Regions from separate parts of the Homo sapiens genome. Here region 1 is linked to region 2. The links are contacts of gene promoters, found by promoter capture Hi-C in human tissues and cell types (Jung and others, 2019). All regions are on one chromosome and are shown on one strand. The core of a region is centred on a gene start or on the middle of the fragment in contact, and the rest is flanking DNA. Distances in the headings are between cores, read along the strand shown. Region 1 has its middle 16 kb from the start of RANBP6. Region 2 holds the start of MLANA (melan-A).

Evidence for each region. Contacts are between HindIII fragments. The study calls those that stand out against the background at their distance.
Region 1: a fragment that was not itself captured here is called in contact with the fragment with the promoter of MLANA in region 2 in 2 of the 25 tissues and cell types used here (heart left ventricle and mesenchymal stem cells).

The regions. Positions count from the first base shown.
Region 1 is chr9:6,030,553-6,033,331 of GRCh38, reverse strand. No RefSeq gene overlaps it. Among named protein-coding and RNA genes, the nearest start is that of RANBP6, 16 kb to the right of the region's middle. The HindIII fragment of the contact is 4,860 bases long and covers 1-2,779 here.
Region 2 is chr9:5,889,586-5,892,285 of GRCh38, reverse strand. It overlaps MLANA (melan-A), which reads right to left and starts at 1,397. Exons shown (of 5, transcript NM_005511.2): 1 at 1,350-1,397. LOC124902341 (small nucleolar RNA U13) reads right to left here and starts at 2,136; the gene lies at 2,030-2,136. It also overlaps a transcript of BRD10 not described here. The HindIII fragment of the contact is 14,558 bases long and covers 1-2,700 here.

The DNA.
Region 1 (2,779 bases), core at 83-2,582, 140 kb before region 2:
CTCAGACTTCCACCTCATCCAAATCCTTCATGCCAGGACTAGCAATTGTTTTGCTTTTGACTTGTCACATACTAAATTCTTATGATAGTTGGGATTTACTTTTGAAATCTATTTTATTACATTCTCCATGGATTTGATTTAATAACTACTGATTTGGATTGTTTCCATTTTGTAAAACAGTGTCTGATATTGGTACTCTAGCATAAAAATTAAACATAATTTAGCCAAGTGTGGTGGTGCATGCCTACAGTCTCAGCTACTCAGGAGGCTGAAGTGGGAGGATCATTTGAGCCCAGAGTTGGAAGCTACAGTGAGCTCTGATTGTGCCATTGCACTCCAGCCTGGGCAATAGAGTAAGACTGTCTTTAAAAATAAATAAGTAAAATAAACACATTAATATTTTTGGTGTCTGACCTTTTATTTTTCAAAGTAATTTCTTTATCAGTGTGTCATCAACTTCTATAAAATCCTAAAGAGCCTTTAATAAAAGGCTCTTTTTATTAAAGAATAGTGCTTTAACTGGTACATTAATATGAAAAGTGTTATTTCTATTGCATTTAGCCTTTAACATTAGAAGCAAATTATGACTCTTTTACTCATTTATTTTCTTCCTAAAATTTCAAAATAACCTTTTCTTTCCCCCAAATTCAGTTATCCAAGTATTTGTTTCATTGTACTTCATAAAATTATTTTACTTTGGGAGGCCAAGGCAGGTGGATCAGGAGGACAAGAGATCGAGACCACCCTGGCCAACATAATGAAACCCCACCTGTACCAAAAATACAAAAATTAGCTGGGCATGGTGGTGCTCACCTGTAGTTCCAGCTACTTGGGAGGCTGAGGCAAGAGAATAGCTTGAACCTGGGATGCGGAGGTTGCAGTGAGGCGAGATCACGCCACTGCACTCCAGCCTGGCGACAGAGTGGAACAACAACAAAAAAAATTATTGTATTCCCTAAGCCTGGGTCAATAGAAAATAGGAAATGCTATCGATTTTTGAGTATTTACCTTATCCTCTCTCTCTCTATCTATCTATATATTTTTTTTCTTTTTTTTGAGACGGAGTCTCGCTCTGTTGCCCAGGCTGGAGTGCAGTGGCGCGATCTTGGCTCACTGCAAGCTCCACCTCCCGGGTTCACACCATTCTCCTGCCTCAGCCTCCCAAGTAGCTGGGACTACAGGTGCCCACCACCCACGCCTGGCTAATTTTTTTTTTTTTTTTGTATTTTTAGTAGAGACAGGATTTCACCGTGTTAGCCAGGATGGTCTCCATCTCCTGACCTCATGATCTGCCCACTTCAGCCTCCCAAAGTGCTAGGATTACAAGCGTAAGCCACCATGCCTGGCCCTTATCCTCTATATTTTTATCTAACTGTTATCTCTAGTGCTTTTAGCTAAACATACATGTCACATTAAAAAGTGACAACAAGGCCAGGTGTGGTGGCTCACGCCTGTAATCCCAGCACTTTGGGAGGCCGAGATGGGCAGATCACGAGGTCAGGAGTTAGATACCAGCCTGGCCAACATGGTGCAACTCTGTCTCGGGCACCTGTAATCCCAGCTACTCGGGAGGCTGAGGCAGGAGAATCCTTGAACCTGGGAGGCGGAGGCTGCAGTGAGCCAAGATCATGCCATTGCACTTCAGCCTGGGCAACAAAAGTAAAACTCCATCTCAAAAAACAAAAAAAAATTTAAAAAAAAGTGACAGTGATTTTTATTTTCCTATGATTAGACTGTCTCCTTCTCTGTTCTATCTAAAGAACTTTTGACAGCACTTCTAGCACAGTCTTTCCTCGAATGGTAACAGGAGTGTGTCTCATTTTGTTACTGTTTTAAAAGACAATGACTATTAATCAGAGTTATGGAAATAACCACCAGAAAATGTAAAAACAGAAAAGTTTAAAAGCAGCTGATTTTGAGGAGAGGACTCAGGGTTGGAAGATATGGAACCAGGAACCTCTGCTTTTCATTACATTCTGTGCTGTACTATTTGATTTTTAACATGCTCACTGTTACTTTAATTTTCAAAATGTAAAAGTATTATAAAAGAATGGCCGGGCATGGTGGCTCACGCCTGTAATCCCAGCACTTTGGGAGGCCAAGGAGGGTGGATTGCTTGAGCCCAAGACTTCAAGACCAGCCTAGGCAACCCCATCTCTTAAAAAAAAAAAAAAAGAATGACTATACTACAGTGGTTCTAAGAATCAACTGAGAACCTGAGATGCTAGTTAAAAATTCAGATTCAAAAATTTTTTCAGTAGCTCAGGGTGGAAGCTAGAGATTTGCATTTTCAACAAATGTTCTAGGTGATCCTGTTTCAGGTGGTCAGGGGATCAGACTTCGAACAGCAGTGCTGCAGTGTTTTTCTATTATTTATGATGGTTTGTTTTTAAATACAGGACTTTTAAAAATTCATTTTTAAAGAAATTATTTTAAATGAATTTTACAATTCATTCTAAGACTCTTCATTTATAAAACACCCTTTATATTTCATTTTCATTGACTTTTAATTTGATTAAATGCTTTTTGGTATCTATTGCTATGTTCACATGATTCTTACTATTTTTCCTGCTAATGTAATAAATTACATTATTGCCTTTCTTTATATTTTACTGACCTTAGATTATAAATTATAAACCTTGATTAGAAAATATATTAGCACAAATTAGCATACTGGGATAATATTTCTATATTCTAAAATCATTTTTTGCTAAACTACTATCTTTCTAACCCTTGGCTCTATTAATTTCTAGTTTTTCTCTTTTGAAACTTAACTAAA
Region 2 (2,700 bases), core at 148-2,647:
CAAGGGCTTTAGCAATAGCTCAGGTTTCTAACCCCTCCTACTAACTGAAAATTAAGTTCAAAGAAGAAACTACAAACAAAAGCAAAAAAGACTTGCAAGTTGAGTTATTATTTGGTGAAAAAATATTCCTCATTTGCCTTCAATTTGACTCTGCACCATAAACTTCTAGAGAAACAAACAAAATGCATTTTCACTGATTCTCCACCTTCCCTGGCCCAGGGCTGTGGCTAACAAAATTAGAGGAGTTATTTTTCTCCAAAGTTATTGTTGGATATCAATCCCACAGACAAACAGAGGCTATGATACATAACGTGTGTTTCCCAGAGCACCCGTTGCCTGTGCCTCGCGAGGGTGCATGAGGTTGAGCACTGAGCACAACATCTTCCAGCCCAGCTTTTCAGCAAAGGAAACCACCCCACACAGGGGCTTCAGCCTGTCCCCAGGCACTCCACCCAAAACAAGCCGAGGAAGCCCAGGACCTGACTTTATCTAACAATGTGTTTCCCTTCCTACTTAAGTCAATTTCTGCTTCTCTCTGGTTCAAGTCCCTTGGCTAGGATTCTTTTTTTTTCTAACTATAACACATACAAATGAACAACAAAAAATATCCATAAACTGCAGTGGCCGTAATTCAAGTACGCTCATTAAAAACCAATAATGGAAGCTCCTTTCCTTATTATTGTGTATTTTTCTGCTCTCTTACTGTCCTCATGAATTTCAAAGGTGTGATCCCCATAGAATTATATTAATGAGCCCCAGTTTAAAACAACAGGGAGAGGTGAGACAGAAGAGTGGGGATTTCGACACATGACCCCTTTCCACTGGGACATTTTATGTGTAATTTGCCCTTCCCAGTTGTAAAAAAGAAATGAAAGTCAAACTCACCAGTCCTCTCAAGTGAATAATATAGGACTGAACCCTGTGTTCAAAATGACAGAATGGAATCTTAATTCTTCATTAAATTGTTTTAATACATCCCATACCTCAAACTCAGAGCCTTGGCAAATGGTGCAGCAACAGCAAATGCGCCTCTTACTACTCAGACCAGGAGAAGTGGTTCTTTAAGTGACAGGAGAACACATCTACCTCAGGGAGGCTGCTTCTCCCCAGCAAGATGCCATCCTGAATAATTGCTTTTCTTCTTGGTAGTGTTGGAGGACTGAGAGAGGATTCAGGAGGAGGCTTTGTGAGCCCTCTGAGGTTGGAGACTGACAAACGTTGCGGAGAAATTCTGTTGATGTCACACATCAGCGGGGCAATGAGGGTAGGCAGAGGACTTAGCCAGAATTTCCCAAATCCTATTCTGGGAGAAGAGGACTATGATTATGGCGAGAAGGCAACGCTCTTACCTTCCTTAATGAGAGTCCTCTGTCTGCTGGCTGGCCGCGTGTATGAAGACTGCTTCTCTGGCTCTTAATCGTTTTGACTTATTTTTTTTCCTGGTTTTGAGTCCCATGATAGTCACGGGTTTAGATTTCTGACGGGGTCGTCTGTAATTGCTAAATTGGCATGAAAGAAACCAACTTTATTCCTTCCTTCAAAAAGTCACAGCTGACTGTGGCCTCTGTTTTCCCCAGTCCCAGTGCTCTATCCTAGGGAAGCCATTTATTTTAAATGTTGGTCCCTCCTCCATAGGATTGCCATGTCACATAAAATATGACATGAGCCTAGTTATAATGATTTAAAATTCATGGTCCGACACCACAATTACTTTTGCACCAACCTAATTGATGTCTAAGTAGGTCATATTCTACCTGCAAAAAGAAAATTTCATCTATCCCTTTCACATAGATGGAAACCCACTATCTCCAGTGGACAGTTAACACCAAAGGCATCACAGAGAACTCATGGAGCTCAGCTGAGGAGGATGCCCAGTTAAATTTGAACTTCAGATAAACAATGAACAGTTTCTTAATACAACTATGTCCCATACAATATTTTTAGGATAAATATGTCCACATATTCTATGGGACATATACACTAAAAGAGTTATTTTTTGTTTATCTGAAATCCACATTTGTTTTTCTCATGTCAGATAGGTAAGGTGCCCATGTCATTGTAACAAGGTTTGAGGGAGGCATATCTCACACGTGAACATGGAAACCCAATCATCACGCTTATGACCCACAAAAGGATCTGAAATCCAAACTAAACTGGGTTCCCTATTCCCTCCCTCATCTCCATCTCAAAGGGTTGAAGAGTCTTTAGGCACAGGTCTGGAGAGCATCTAGTCCCAGACTCTCATAATCAAGAAAAGGAAATAGAAAAATCCCTGAAACCTCCTCAGCTGAGCTCCATGAGTTCTCTGTGATGCCTTTGGTGTTAACTGTCCACTGGAGATAGTGGGTTTCCATCTATGTGAAAGGGATAGATGAAATTTTCTTTTTGCAGGTAGAATATGACCTACTTAGACATCAATTAGGTTGGTGCAAAAGTAATTGCGGTGTCGGACCATGAATTTTAAATCATTATAACTAGGCTCAAACACATTTTTTTTTTCTGAGATGGAGACTCACTCTGTCGCCCAGGCTGGAGTGCAGTGGCAGGATCTCAGCTCACTACAACCTCTGCCTCCCAGGTTCAAGCAATTCTCCTGCCTCAGCCTCCTGAGTAGCTGGGACTACAGGTGCACGCCACCACACCTGGCAAATTTTTGTATTTTTAGTAGAGACAGGGTTTCACCATGTTGGCCAGGATGGT